Regions from separate parts of the Homo sapiens genome. Here region 2 is linked to region 1. Evidence: promoter capture Hi-C in human tissues and cell types (Jung and others, 2019). All regions are on one chromosome and are shown on one strand. The core of a region is centred on a gene start or on the middle of the fragment in contact, and the rest is flanking DNA. Distances in the headings are between cores, read along the strand shown. Region 1 holds the start of RPS6KA1 (ribosomal protein S6 kinase A1). Region 2 holds the start of DHDDS-AS1 (DHDDS antisense RNA 1).

Region 1 (7,725 bases), core at 4,103-6,602:
AGACTGAGCTCCACTTCACCCAGCATTCTAGACTCTTGACATAATTCCTGCAGATGATCAGAACAGCCTACCCACCAGCTCCCTGCCCCACAGCCTTCCCCACTCCAAACCCTCATCATTCCTAAAATCAAGTGCAACTGCTGCACTCAACTCACTCAGTCAACATTTGCTGAGAACCTTCTATGTACCAGGCCCCAAACCCCTCTGTGGCTTCCACTGCCTGTAGAATCAAGTCCCAGCTCCTTAGCATAGAAATCAAGGCCATCATCTTCAACTGCCCAGCACAATAACTAGGAATGTAGGTTTTGCAACCTGACCTTGTGGGTTCAAATTCTGGCTTCTACCACCTGCGTGACCCCTAGAAGGTTAGTTCATTTACTGGGGCTTCAGTTTCCTCATCTGTGAAATGCGGATCAAAGTAACATACCTCAATGGTGGCGGCAAGAAGCAAATGAAATAATGCCTATAAATATATACACCTGACATGTAACTGGCCTACAAACAATAGCCATTCTTATCATTGGGCCCTATTTTTGAGCTAAACTGAACAACCACAGACCCTGAAAACAGTCTATTTTATATCCCCAGCATTTGTATGGTGGCTCCCTCTACCAAGAAAGCCTTTCCTGCCTTGTCACTTTGGCAAACTCCTGATCTTTTATCAGGACTGAATTCAAATGTCACCCCTGTCCACACAGCCTCATGTTCTTTCCTCCCTCCTCTCTACCCCCATAACCTAAGCATGCTGCAGGTTAACTCGGGAAGGGGCCATGGCTTGTCCATCATCAACATCTTGGCACCCAGCCAGAGTCCAGCATGTGGTTTATCCAGTGAAAGTTCAACCCAGCAAAGACAGCAAGGAGGCCAGAGCAGGTTCTATTACTCCTATTTTTCAGATGAGGCTCAGGAGAGTTAAGGGACTCACCGAGGTCCCTCAGCAGGCAGGTGGCAGACATGTGACCATAACCCAAAGTCACGTGGCTGCAAGCCTACTGAGGGTGGGGAGGAAGGGGTAGGTGTACCTAGAGGTGTGGGTTTCTTGAGCAGTGGCCTGGATGACTTAGGGACCCCCCGCTCTAAGGCAGTCTGGCTGCCTCTACTCCCTGGATCTCTGGCTTGGGTGTCATTCTTATGGAACGCCAAACCTGTAAGAGTAAGGGAACAGGCAGCCCTGGAGAACAGACTGGTAGGGGGGTCAGGGGGGTTGTGGGGTGCTGGCTTCCCACTCAGAGCCTGGGTCCTGGGTCCGGGGTCATCTGCCCCTCTGGCCTGACTGCTGCATAGCAATCCTTGAAAGAACACAGCTGTGCAGCCACAAAGATACAGCCACTAATCCTAGCTCTGCCAGCCACTTATTCTGCCCTTGGGTCTGTCATATCACTTTTTATTTTTATTTTTATTTATTTTTTGAGACAGTTTCACTCTTTTGCCCAGGCTGGAGTGCAGCGGCGCAATCTCAGCTCACTGCAACCTCTGCCCCGCTGGGTTCAAGCAATTCTTCTGCCTCAGCCTCCCAAGTAGCTGGGAATATAGGCCGCACCACCACACCTGGCTAATTTTTGTATTTTTAGTAGAGGCGGGGTTTCGCCATGTTGGCCCAGCTGGTCTCAAACTCCTGACCTCAGGTGATCCACCCGCCTCAGGCTCCCAAAGTGCTAGGATTACAGTCATGAGCCACCACGCGTGGCCTCATATCACTTTTTGAAGTCTCAGTTTCGGCCAGGCGCAGTGGCTCATGTCTGTAATCCCAGCACTTTGGGAGGCTGAGGCCAAGAGGCCTCACAGATCACGAGGATCACGAGGTCAAGAGATCGAGACCATCCTGGTCAACATGGTGAAAACCTGACTCTACTAAAAATACAAAAATTAGCTGGGCATGGTGACACGGGCCTGTAGTCCCAGCTACTCAGGAGGCTGAAGCAGGAGAATCACTTGAACCCGGGAGGTGGAGGTTGCAGTGAGCCGAGATCACGCCACTGCACTCCAGCCTGGTGACAGAGCAAGACTATGTCTCAAAAAATAATAATAGTAATAAAGTCTCAGTTTCCTCATCTGTATCACGAGGGCAGGTGTGTCTTGCTGACATCTGCACTTTGTTGTCTGAAATAGTACTTATCACCTAAGTGCTAAATAAATGACTGAATGGGGACAATGGTGCTGACCTTGCAGAGTACTGAATGAAGGACTTTGTCTTAGGAGTCCTTTGGCCTCTTAGAGGTTGAAGACCCACACTCCTCCCTCTTCCTCAGAGAGCACTGCTCATGAGGACAGATGCCCAGGGCCCCAGACCACTGCCCCCAGTTCTGAGATGTCAGAAATGGGTTCCAACTGGCATCATTCCTTCCCACCCAAGCAACTCTGTCTTAGAAAGAGGGGCCCAGGGCAGCGTCTGGAGAAGCTGGGCAGCAGATGGAGAAGGACAGCACGTGCCCCACAGGCAGGAAGCAGCCCCAGGAGCTGGGTTCTGAGCCCAGCATTGGCAGCCCTGCTCACTGCTGGAGGCTGGGGGCCAGGTGCCAGGGCTGGCTGGCACTGCCAGCCCTCGGCAAAGACTGGACGAGGGCCTTGCAGGATAAGGAGAGTCCGCCAACATCCGGAGCCTCTCTTGGAGCACCTTCCACCTGGGCTAGTGTGGCTCCAGCCCTTCCCCATCCCTGAGCCTCTCTCCCACTTGGTGGAAGAGAGAGATCTTGGTTCCAATCCTGGCTCTGATATTAACACATAAGCCTGAGTTTTCAGTTGTCCCATCTGAAAACAGGGGTAATAATCCCTATCTTGAGAAGCTGTTGTGAGAATTAAAGTGGGGTGACATTCGTAAGGCAGAGTGGGTGGCACATAGTAAAGCTCTGTACGTGGCAGAACTGGGCCTGGGGACAAGGCTACTGCTTTCAACAGGGCTAAGCGAGGCCCAGGCAGAATCCTCACCCACGCTTCCCATAGATTACTCCACCTGGGCTGCACCCTGGGCCAGGCCCTGCCTCCCAGCGGCCCATTTTCAGCAGCATTAAGGGAGGGCAGGGCAGTCCAGATCCTAGGTCCCTGTGAAAAGTCCCCCACCAGCCCCTCACCTGCCTCCTTCCTGGCTAGGAGCTGCCAGCAGTGGTGGTGCCTGTACGTGCAGGTCAGGCGGCTGTATCGCTTACATGTCACCTGGGCTAAGAACAGCGAGGCCCTGTTCTCCAGTGAGAACAGCCCAACCTGCGCCGTGGCTGCCCTGTGGCTCCTGTTACCCAAACAATAACACCCAGTCGCCTGGCACCTCCAGGAGTGGGGGAGGGGGGACCAGACAACAGTACCCAGCGCTCTGCACCCTCTCAGGCCCAGGAAGTGGAGGCTAGAACCTAGCACTTGCCACTGGAGAAGCAGAGGCCCAGACAGGCTGAGGACTGACTGAGGATCACACATCGTTTCTGGAGCGAAGCTCCTGAGGAAATTGCGTCCCCCTGCCCCACCAATCCCAGGAAGTCCGCTGGTCTTCCCCTCTCACAGACCTGAGATGTTACAGAACTCAAAACTGAGATGAGTTTCCCAGTTAAACCTGGCTCCCTGGTGAAGCTGGCCCCTGCCTCAGGATTCCCTAAAGAGAAGCAGGAAGTGGTGCCCCAGGATCGAGCTCCTGGGTGTCCACCCTCCCTATCAGCATAAAGTCACTCCCCAGCCTCTCCCAGCCCTACCTTCTCCTTTGGAGGCCTGGTCCCAGGGGCGTGCCTGGGCAAAGGAATCCACCTCTGAGCACCACCCCCAGGACCTTGCGCCCCGGTCCTAGTAGCGGGGTGGCAGTACAGGGGCTGCAGAGGGCAGTGTTCCTCACCTCAGAGGGTGAGTCAGCGAGAGAACCTCTGAGCAGCCTAGCAGTGCCTGTAAAATCCCCATGGCAGGAATCCCAGAGCAATTTACTCCAAATTGCTCCTTCAGGTTGGTTACCTAATCCTGCCGCGCCCACCCTCCAATAGCCAGTGTCGGCCATCCCTTTAAAGGGGCAGCACACCCTGGGGGCTGGGGACCCTGGGTGCTCACCCTGATCTAAGCCTGTGGTCCTGAGAGGCAGGACACTTGGTGGCTGCCCTAGGTAAGAGAGGGCAGAGGAGGGGACTGAGACAGGGGCTCCAGGCCCAAGCTGGGAGAAAGTCATCTCAGCTCCTGGGCTCAAATGAGGTCTCCATTCCCTCCCTGCATACCCCCAACAACCACCTGGGAAGGAGAATATCACCTGCTTCCTTCCCAGCAAGAGGTTAAGGAGGAAGTTTTCCACCAGCTCATTCAGGGGCTTGACCTTGACCCTGGGGTCAAAAGGCACAGGAAGAGGTGGCCTTCTGCACGCTTAGGGACTGGAGCCACAGAGCCCTCAAGGGAGGTCAGGAGCTGCTTCTGAGAGAGAAGGAGCTGGGTTGTCTGGGGAGTCTGGGCTGGCAGAAGCCAAACTCCCCAAGGGCCCAGCCCTTCCTACCGGAAGGGGCATAAGAAGGGAGGCAGGCACCAAGGTCCCCCCACGCCCTGCCAGGAATCATCTTCACAAGGTCTAAGGGCTCTTCCCCACTCTCGTCTCCACAGCCTGGGGTAGGGCACACAGGTGTCCTCTGGCCCTAGCCTCAGGGCAAAGAAAACCAGGAGTTCCAGCCCCAGACGGGTGGTGCCATCCCACACTCCGCATCCGCCAGGGGTCAAGAGGAGCAATCCTTCTAGGCTCAGCAGCGGTGAAGCCAGAAGCAGGGAGCTCTTGGCGGAGGGCCCTGGGAGAAGTGGGGGTCCCATAACCCCTGTCTCTGGTAGAATCCCAGACATCTGGCACTGAAGATCTCCCCGTCTGCATTAATGGAGGAAGCTCCGACAGCTCTGGACAGATGCCGGGACGGGTCCTAGGTGTGGGGTGAAGGCGACCAGATCTCAGCGCCCCATAGGATCCCCTCTCCTGGCTATGGCGGGGAGGTAGTCGGCGCTTGGCGGAACTGTCCCTCGCACACGCACACCCGGGCATAGGGGGGTGGAGCCGGACAGTGGGCAAGAGATCGGAGGGCACTCGCGCCCTCGCGGGCGCCCGCCGGACTGCAGCGGCGCTTCGGGCCGCCCCGCCCCTGTGAGGATCCGGGCTCGCCGGCCGCGGGCGCCCGTCCCCCGCCCCGCTCACTCACCTCCGGGTCCAGAGGCACTAGCTCCATGAGCGGCCAGGGCTCCTTGAGCTGGGCGAGCGGCATCTCGCCGCCGCCAGGTCACCCGCGCTCCTCCGGCGGCCCCGGCTGCGCCGCCTCCCGGGTCCTGGGGTCCCTGGCTCTGCGACCCGAACCGCCGCGCCCCCCCGAGCCCCTCGCGCTCCGGCTGGGCCGTCCGCCGCCGCCGCCGCGGCACTAGCACTTCGGCTCCCTCCGTCACCCGGCGCCGCCGCGCCCATTGGCTACCTGCGCGGGGGCGGAGCCGGAGAAGCCCCGCCCCAGCCCCCGCGGCGCGGCATTCCCAGCGCGGACCCCCGCCCCCGCCGCGCCCCGAGGGCCGGCCCCGCCCCTGCCGCGAGCCCCCGGCCCGCGCTCGGCTCCGCCGGAGAGGCCCTGCTGGCTCCTTCCCTTCCAGTGGTGTACCCCTGGACACACCACACCAGGGCCACCGTTCTCCCCCGCTCAGCTCTTTTGGAATCCCAGCCCAGATGTTCCTTCTCCTTCCAACGGGAGAGAAGCACCTTATCCCCGACCCCAGCACACACATTCACACTGGGTTCCTGGGCCTGATCTAGGCTGAGGCTTGGAAGGAGCCTGAGACCCACTCCCCTTAGGCCCTCAACTCACCAGGCCCTAGAGATCCCCTATCCTCTAATTTCTACCCCGCCCTGAAGCTAACACTGTGATCTCCGGGCGATCTCAGTGCCCCAGGCCAAGATGGGCATCAGCAGTTGTTACCACCATCAGGACCCATAGTGCCACCACAGAGTGATTGATTGATCGATTGATTTTACATAATGTATATAAATATTACATATATAAATAAATATGTATAAATAAATATTATATATATGCACATATATGTATGTATGTGTGTATATAGTGAGAGAGAGAGAGACACGAAGTTTCGCTTTGTTACCTAGGCTGGTCTCTGACTCCCCGGCTCAAGTGATCCTCCTGCCTCGGCCTCCCAAAGTGCTGGGATTACAGGCATGAGCCACCGCGCCCGGCCAAGAGTGATTTCTTAATATGCGTTTTTGCAATCTGTGCTCTGCCCTATCACTTGAAGGGGGTCCTTTCAGGTCAGGTCTCCCTGGAGTCACCTGCAGCCCCAGCTCTGGACTAGTTTGGGTTTGCGACTCTCTGAGGAGGGACCAGGCTCCCAGGATGAACCGAGGCTTGGTGGGACTTGGAGTGAAAGGCCAGGGAGACTGGTTGCCCCAGAGAGATTCAGCCTCCACCTAAAGAGCCTTAGGGGTCCGGGTGTGCTGAGATGTATTCACATGTGAGGAGTGAGCTTGCTGGAGGGACAAGCTTGCTGGTTTCGCAGGAAGACTGGTCAGTTATTTGCAAAGCTGTTCTAAGGCAGGGGAATGGGAAGGAATGTTTATCAAAAGCTTCCTGCGAGCCATGTGATTTCCTTGAATGATTACCACCACCTAGTTTACAAATCCTGAAACAAGCTCGGAAAGATGAAGTGACTTACCCAAGGTCACACAAGAGGTTGAGAACAGACTAGGGCTTAAAAAAATCAAAGTGTCACACCTGTAATCCCAGCACTGGGAGGCCGAGGCGGGCGGATCACGAGGTCAGGAGATTGAAACCATCCTGGCTAACATGATGAAACCCTGTCTCTACTAAAAATACAAAAAATTAGTAGGGCGTGGTGGCAGGCACCTGTAGTCCCAGCTACTCGGGAGGCTTAGGCAGGAGAATGGTGTGAACCCGGGAGGCGGAGCTTGCAGTAAGCGGAGATAGCCCCCACTGCACTCCAGCCTGGGCGACAGAGACTCCATCTCAAAAAAAAAAAAATCAAAGTGGATAAGGATTTCTCCAGAATCCACGTGCTCCCCCTTTTCCATGGCTTTCCCAGGGTAGGACCTCAGCTGTTGAACTGAATTTTGAGTGAAAGGACTTTGGAACCCAACAATTCTGGGTTTGAATTCCAGCTCTGCTACCTTCTTAACACAGGGAAACTCATTTTATGCCTCTAAACCTCAATTTCTCCATCTGTAAAATGGGAATTATAATCTCAATCTTTCAGGTATATAGGACAAGATTCATTTTAATTCAATAAATTTACAGCTATATATTTTTTATTTGTTTTTTAGAGACGGAGTCTCGCTCTGTTGCCTAGGCTGCAGTGCAGTGGTAAAATCGTAGTTCACTGCAGCCTTGAACTTCTGGGCTCAGGCGATCCTCCCACCTCCCACAAGTAGCTGGCACTTCAGGTGTGTGCCACCATGCCCAGCTAATTTTTTTTCTTTTCTTTTGAGACAGAGTCTTGCTCTGTCAACAGGCTGGAGTGCAGTGGCTCAATCTCAGCTCACTGCAACCTCCACCTCCCAGGTTCAAGCAATTCTCCTGCCTCAGCCTCCTGAGTAGCTGGGACTACAGGTGCGTGCCACCACGCTTGGTTAACGTTGTGTATTTTCAGTAGAGACGGGGTTTCACTGTATTAGCTGGGATGGTCTCAATCTCCTGACCTCATGGTCTGCCCATCTTGGCCTCCCAAAGTGCTGGGATTATAGGCGTGAGCCACTGTGCCAGGTCCCCAGCTAATTTTTTATATGTTTTG
Region 2 (7,725 bases), core at 2,849-5,348, 64 kb after region 1:
GGGAGCAGAGTCAGTTGGAAGAAGTGTTTGGTTCTGCTCAGTCCTGTTGTGTTACAGGGGAGGCCTGTGCTGGATTCAGTTCACCAGGGCCTACAGGCCCTTCTGTTACCCTGAACCATGGAGGGGGCCAGTCTCATTTGGGAGTGGAGCCTGGCCCCATGCCCTGCAAGAGGAGGAGAAAAGCTTGTGTGGGCTGAGTCGACAATAGGTAATTGGATTGTAATCGCCCGCCTGGCTTCCGCGCACCATTGGGGGTGCTGAGTCTTTCAGTGAGCAATCAGTACTGTGTGGTGGGAGAGGGTAGAGATTCAATAGCAAATCCCAGGTGGAGAGCCAAGGGGGAGGAGCAGCAGATGGGCAAATTTTCTGTCTCTCCCACCCCTTTTTTCCTTACCCAAATAACTGCCTGCCTATTAGTTATTTACTAGCAGATCCAAGGTAGAGCCAAATCTTTTGTGGAAGCTGGGTGGAAGGCTAAAATGGAAGGGTAAAGAGCTAGGGTTTTGGGGAGAACTCTTCCCTGAAATTCTGTGTGTTGAAGGATGTGCTGGTGGAAAAAGAAAGTGCATCTAAGAGACAGGCAGCTGATGAGTTGTGGCCCTTTGCTCTCCAAACCCTATTGGTGACCAGACCTAGGTTTAGTGTACTCGTGGGAGACTTTCACCCTCAATCCTCCTCAGGAGCCTGTCCCAGGCAGCCCAAAGGTATCTATGGCCAGCAAACCTGGCCTGGGGGGCTCCCCAGCCAAGCAAAGGGAACACCATTCATTATCAGGAAAGGAGGTGCCTTTCACCAAGAAAAGGAAGGGGAGTGGAGCCCTGGAGGCAGAGGGCAGGGCAAAGTGGCAGGTGGCCAGCCTCATTCAGGCTGATGCAGTGCCCAGACGGGCCAGCCAGTCAGCTCGCTTGAGTTCCAAGGCCTGCAGGAAGCCTTGGACTCGCTCTTCCCGTCTGGCCGAGAGTTTGTGCAAGCGTGTCCTTCGGAGCTGGGCGTCCCCACTGGCTTGGAGCCCCTCTCGCAGCAGCTGCTCTGTCACTGTAGCCTGGTCCCTCTCCAGCTGCTGCCTCTTCCGCTCCTCTGCATACATGTCTCGGGCCTTCTGCTAGAGAAAAGTGGGGATTGGGGTGGGGAGATCATTTTTAGGAGTGGGTGAAACTGGGATGGAGGAGGTAGGGGGTGGGGCACAGGGTGGGCCAAGTGAAGTGGAACAGTGGAAAGTAGGTACCAGATTTGAAAAGGCTTGGGAGTAGGTATGCAGTGGGTGGTGCTCATGTTGTACAGGCAGGGCAGTGGCAATTCTGGGTCCATCTTGGTTTGTTTTGTGTGGAAGCGTCTGTACTTCTTAAAGTTTTTCTCATGCTCTTGGAACCAAACAAATGTGGGTCTGACTTCTGATTCCCCCATCAACTGGCTTTGTGTCTTTGGGCAAATCCTGTCCTAACCTCATTTCTTCATCTGTAAAGTGGGGGTTGTGCCTACCTTGAAGAGTGGTTTTAAGGATTAGAGATAACATATGCAAAATCCTCTCTAGGATATTAGCAGGCTCTTAGACAGAAACAGCAATTTTACAAGTTGTTATTGTCTATTCTCCGCTGCAAGAAAGGTCCTATTCTTGTCGGGGACATGTCCCTTGGGTCACTTCCTTTGATCTCCCCAGGTTTTCCTCTGAGGGTACCATCCTCCCCACTCCCTAGGCTATTTTTCAGAGCTCCAGACTTGCCTCCTGTATGAAGACCAGCCTGATCCTTCCAGCAAATGACCCCCCTATGAACATTCTGAGAAGCAGGTTCAACTCTCTTAAGCCACTTATTGCATTCTGCATAGTAGAATAAGTGTTAGTGTTCACAATCCACTCTTTCTGTTAGAAAATAAGCCCTTGGAAGTTTGAGAGCCTTCAAGCCTCTTGCAACCAGCTCTGACACCAGGTGGTGATCATACTCCCTGGCAGCAGTTATCATCCCAAGTACTAGAGGGCAGAGACTGGGCTTCTTCCTCTCCAGCACTTGGGGTGCCCTGTACATGTGAAACACTCAACTGACTGACCACGTGATCCCAGGAGAGCAGTGAGGATGCTCCTGATACAGAAGAGCGGAAAATCCCTTTGGAGCAGAACCAAGGCTTTCCTGTGCCTCACTGATCCTCTCTGTTCCTGCCAGTCTAACTGACCTGCAAAGCCTTTGCACTAGAGCTCCTCCTGCCAAACCTATTCCATGTGTGAGAAACTCTATTTTCCTATGGTATCCTATACCCTGATGACCCTTCCCACATTCTACCTTGTATTACGATAAACTTGTATACATGTTTTTGTCCTAATCAGCCTGTAAGCACCTTGACTGCTCTGTCTTCATGGTTTAAAGAATATCTTACATGTGCACAACCACTTCATCTGTTGCCTCACTTGACCCTCACAATGGAGCTGTGAGGGAGGTACTTTCTGCTGGAGACAGACATGGAGCAGGGAACTGATTTGCTGTCTCTCAGCAATAAAGGTTTACTGCATGAATAAGGATGACAAATGAGAATTCTGGACTGTCCCCCCCGGCTCCTGAATAATCCCAGGCATTCAAGAATACTTCTCTTCTGCTATTACAATGAATTACATGTGGAGCTATGAGGACTTCGGGCTTGAACAGTTGCCGTAGAGCTCTCCGTCTTGCTGGAAGGGCTTCTTCCAGGCCTTGGTCAGGAGGCTCCCTGGGTGCTACATACAGGATTTTTTTTGAGGATATGGAGATGCGCAGGACACGATCCCAGCAATCCAGGTGCTTACAGGCTGATTGTACAGCCATGCACACAGAGTGCCACGATGCAAAATAGGATGTGGTAAGGGTCATGCAGTTCAGAGGAGAAAGCAAGTGTGGCTGATGAACATCACGGAGCAGTGACCTTCATGGACAGACAGAATTTGAGCTGGCCCTTTAACCAATGAGGAGGATTCAAACAGAGGTGAGGTGTGTGGGGGGCAGGGAGAATATTCTGGCAGTGGGAGTAATGAGCAAAGATGCATGGAACCGAAGAGCCTGTTAAGGCCAGAGTAAGTCCACCTGGAGCACTGGGGTTTGAGAAGTTCCTAAGGCCTCCCTCACCTCTCTAAGGCTCTCTCTTACTCTGCAAAACCGGGATAAGAGTACCCACCTCACTGGGTTGTTTGAGGAAAAATGAGATAATGAATTTTCAGCCTACTGCTTGGCTATTAACTGTTAGCTGTTCTATCACCGCCACTTGTGGACTGGGCTAAGTAGTCTAAGTTTCTGGCAGAACAGAAAGGATGGGGGACGCTCAGCAACAGAGGGAGGAAATATGGAGCTAGCTAAAGCCACTTCATGAGGCGCAAGCTTCTTCCAGATGGCATCAGAGTGCATGCCAGCAATGGGGGCTGTAGCCCAGGCAGAGCCTGGCCCCTGTCTGCCAGGAATTAGCAGTTCATTGTTCAGATAGCAGAGTTGGGAGGGTGTCTGCTCGTCATTTTACAGAAAATGACAGCGAGGCTGAGATGGCTGAAGTTCCCTTGGCTTCTCCACTAAGATAACTTCTTGAGAGGACAATGTGAAGTGTATCTCGTGCCTGTGTATAAGCTCTACTTTCTAGGGGTGGAAAAGCTGGTGGCCTGTATCTGGATACCTGTCTATCCAGCTTCCACATGGTCTGAATCTACCCTTTCAATCTCAGAGGTGTTTCCAGTTCTTCTCAAGTACTTACCCTTGGGAAATCCAAGCTAACAGAAGTCCTAGAGGTCAACTTTTCTCTCCCTGACCATTTGTCTACTATCCTTGTATAATGACCAATCAGGGTAAGTGAGGGCGTTAATTCTTTCCTTAGAGACTTTTTGTACAGACCTTATCCAATCTTGGTGCAAGGGCTCCAAGAAGCTCACTTTGAGAAATGTGGTTCTAACCTATGAATCTAAATTCCTCCTGGGCATTATCCCTCTCTGCTCTTATTCTCTCCTTGGTAGAATCAGAGAACAAGATGTAATAGTCCCTCCAGTACTTAAATCTAAAAGTCCTCTACCACTCTGTTGGCACCTGGAGAGAGGCTGCAGGTCCTTGGCTTCAAAACATTAGCCAATGAAAAGTCCTTCCCCAAGCTGCAACCAGCCAGCCCAGGTCAGCAGCATGAGGAATGCATTTCTGAGGGCTGCTCTCAGGCAGAGAAGGGCACCTCCTACCAGAAACATGATGTTCTGAAGCACCCTCAGAGTCTCCTTGCCTGGGGAGTTGTACTGGGGACAGGATGTGCAGGGTGCTTTTCCAGAGAGGAGTCTGAGGAGAGGCCAAGAGACACACATGTGGGGAACAATATTGGCCACCATTCTTGGAAAATGAACTCTGTTCCAGCCACTGCACTCAGCACTTGACATGTGTTAGCTTACTGAATCCCTATCACAAACCTGCAAGGTAGGTATTACTGTAAACGCTACTTCTCTCATTTTACAGGTGAGGAAAATGATACTCTGAGGGGTTAAGTAACTGTACAGTCATATAGCTATGTAGGCAGTGCCAATATTCAAAGTCATGAATGTCTGAGACATTAACTCAAGCTTTTAGGCTAAGGTGGGAGGCTCGCTTGAGCCCAGCTGCTCAAGACCAGCCTGGGCAACATGGCGAGACCCCATTTCCACATGCATACATATATGCATACATACATAACTCAAGCTTTTATCCTGAGGAGAAGATAGTGACAACCTGAAGAGCAGAAGAAATATAATGTTCAATCCAGCCCGTTTAAATTGTGACAAATGTACTACAGGAAGCTTCGTGGGAACATGTGTCTTTTCCCTCTCTAATATCATCCTTGGAGATGAGGTGAACACTTTTTACTCATCTCCATCAGTGACCTCTCAAGGACCTACCATCCATGCAACTTGTGATTGAGGATCAGCTGCTCTGCACTGCCGCACACCCCCTCCCTGGCCTGATTCTCTATTTGTCCCTGCCTCTTTGCTGACAAGTCCTACTGCATCATAGTCAAGATCTCCCTTTGCCAGCCTTTAAGACTGGCTAGGTGACCACCTGGAGACTGTCATGGTCCATTCAGATACCAAGGTCTGGCTCCCCACAACTTGTAGCCAAGTCCCTGCTTCCCTTACGATCCACCCGCTGCCTTCCTCTCAGTAAGCTACTCTAGGTCCAGAGCCTAGCCCCTTGCCCTGGCTTCCTGCAGAGAATAGGGACACATTGGGCAGGGCCTAGAGACAGAGCAGCTCAGATTTTAAAATGGGAATTTGGGTGATGGGGCAAGAGCACAGACATACAGGTAGGAAACTGGAGGGCATGGAACAGGTAACTGGGAAGAGTCCAGTTTGGCCATGATACAGGGTCTGTAAAAGGGAGACATGAGAAAAGCCTGGAAAGACCTCTCTGGTCTGAGAACAAACTGGTGAGGATGCTGTTAGTCTGGATTCTCCCCTTAGTGCATCTGCCAAGGTGATATGATTTCTAGAAACAGAGCTTTGAAGCTTCTGGGGTAGAGAAAGCCTGGCCAGGACCTCCAAGGGCTCCTGCTGGAGAAGGCTTCAAGATAATCAGTATCTCTATTATAACTTTGGATTCCTTGCTCTAAAAACAGAGGCAATAATAATAGTATCTGCCTTAAAGCAGTTCACAGAATTTACTGAAAGGATGCCTGACATGTGGTAAGAACTCAATACTGGAAGGATGCCTGACATGTGGTAAGAACTCAATAAAAGTTTGCAAATATAGGCCGGGCGCAGCGGCTCATGCCTGTAATCCTAGCACTTTCGGAGGCCAAGGTGGGTGGATCACCTGAGGTCAGGATTTTGAGACCAGCCTGGCCAACATGGTGAAACCCTGTCTCTACTAAAAATACAAAAATTAGTTGTGCGTGGTGGCACGTGCCTGTAGTCCCAGCTACATGGGAGGCTGAGGCAGGAGAATTGCTTGAATCCGGGAGGCAGAGGTTGCAGTGAGCCGAGATCATGCCACTGTTCTCCAGCGACAGAGTGAGATTCCGTCTCAAAAAAAAAAAAAAAAAAAAAAAAGTTTGCAAATATGATCCATAGGTAAAAATGGAACACTTAATAGTTGACCTCAAACACCTTCCACCCCATCCCAGGAAACAGCAGAACTATACAACCAATTGCTATGGCCACAACCTAAGTGTCTTGGTTCCTAATAACATTATTATTTGTACTTATTTGTTTTAGCCTACAAGAAACAAGAGTTTCAGGCCGGTCGCGGTGGTTCACGCCTGTAATCCCAGCACTTTGGGAGGCCGAGGCGGGCAGATCACCTGAGGTCGGGGGTTTGAGACCAGCCTGACCAACATGGAGAAACCCCATCTCTACTAAAAATATAAAATTAGCCAGATGTGGTGGCACATGCCTGTAATCCCAGCCACTTGGGAGGCTGAGGCAGGAGAATCGCTTGAACCTGGGAGGCGGAGGTTGCAGTGAGCCGAGATCACGCCATTGCACTCCAGCCTGGGCAACAAGAGCGAAACTCCATTTCAAAAAAAAAGAAACAAGAGTTTCATAATTACATTACCAACATTGCCACTAACAATAAACCTCTTAAGTAATGTTTAATTTTGTGTTGCAGTTTGTATTATCCTGAAAAGAAATTCCACTAAAGATGAATAGCAGAGAACTGTGTTCAGGTAAGCTGAATTAATTCCTTTCTCTGGGGAGTTATATTATCACCTTGATATAGCTAGTTTCACTTGTTTCTATTTCAACATTTGTTTTTATCCCGTCTTCACTCCTCCCCTTCCCTACTGCCACCACCCTACCTCGAGGCGCATCCTCTCTCACCTGGACTACTGCAGGAGTTCTGTCTCTTGGCTTTAACTCCAGCCCGTTGAAAATTCTGAATGATTTTTACAAAATGCAACTCAGATCCCGTCATCCCCTGATTAAAGTCCTTCAGCTTTGTTACCATGACCTACAAGGCTCTATATGAGCCAAGGTCTGACTCTAGCCTCATTTCCTGCCCTTCTCCCTTGGCACATTGACCTCTTTTTTGTTCTTCCAAGACCCAAACTTTAACCTCAGTCTCTTTGCATTCTCTTCATTACTTTCTAGCACATCACTCTGTATTCTTCACTGCCTTATTACAATCGGAACTTATATATTTGTTTACTTGTTTATTTCTGTCTCCTCAAGAATACAAGTTCCACAAAGGTAGAGATCTTGTCCCTCTGGCTACCTGTTGACTCTCCTGTGCCTAATACAGTGCCTGATTCATACTACTCAATAAATACTTATGGAATGAATGAAACTTGAGTTAACTCCTCTGACAACCATATGCAAAGTATCTGAGAAACGTGAAATTACTATAAAAGACTTCTGAGCAGCCCAATTAGAGGTAAAAACACAAAAACTCATGCACCAAGCTCCTTTGGGCTTCATGCAGAGCCAGTTCACTCTCATTTTATATACATAATTCCAACAAGCTTGACTATCTGGTTTCCTTGTCTATAGCTGATTTAAAACAGTAAATACTATGGAAGAGGAGAGATACTGTCAAAATTAACTGTTGACAGCAGTAGGAAATGAAAGAGGGAGGACACAGAAAAATATACATGAAACCTCAAACCCAGGTATTCTGGGACCATCTAACTTAGAGCAAACAGCCCTACCCCTCAAGGATATTGTTGTACAATGAAGTGTTTAAAGATGATAATTACTATTATCATAATCATTAGAATATGACGGCCAGGCATGGTGGCTCATGTCTATAATCCTAGCACCTGGGGAGGCCGAAG

Evidence for each region. The method cuts DNA at HindIII sites, captures the fragments that hold promoters and counts their contacts. A contact is called where the count stands out against the background at its distance.
Region 2: a fragment that was not itself captured here is called in contact with the fragment with the promoter of RPS6KA1 in region 1 in 8 of the 25 tissues and cell types used here (H1 embryonic stem cells, bladder, dorsolateral prefrontal cortex and 5 more).

The regions. Positions count from the first base shown.
Region 1 is chr1:26,527,388-26,535,112 of GRCh38, reverse strand. It overlaps RPS6KA1 (ribosomal protein S6 kinase A1), which reads right to left and starts at 5,352. Exons shown (of 22, transcript NM_002953.4): 1 at 5,130-5,352. The coding sequence starts at 5,192. It overlaps LOC124903884 (a long non-coding RNA gene), which reads left to right and starts at 3,715. Exons shown (of 2, transcript XR_007065558.1): 1 at 3,715-3,915; 2 at 4,552-5,993. RefSeq lists enhancers at 2,924-3,835, 3,836-4,746 and a silencer at 4,988-5,467. The HindIII fragment of the contact is 11,905 bases long and covers 1-7,725 here.
Region 2 is chr1:26,462,269-26,469,993 of GRCh38, reverse strand. DHDDS (dehydrodolichyl diphosphate synthase subunit) reads right to left here. Exons shown (of 9, transcript NM_205861.3): 9 at 1-1,099. The coding sequence ends at 863. It overlaps DHDDS-AS1 (DHDDS antisense RNA 1), which reads left to right and starts at 2,457. Exons shown (of 3, transcript NR_125953.1): 1 at 2,457-2,946; 2 at 6,561-6,618; 3 at 7,124-7,238. The HindIII fragment of the contact is 4,677 bases long and covers 1,760-6,436 here.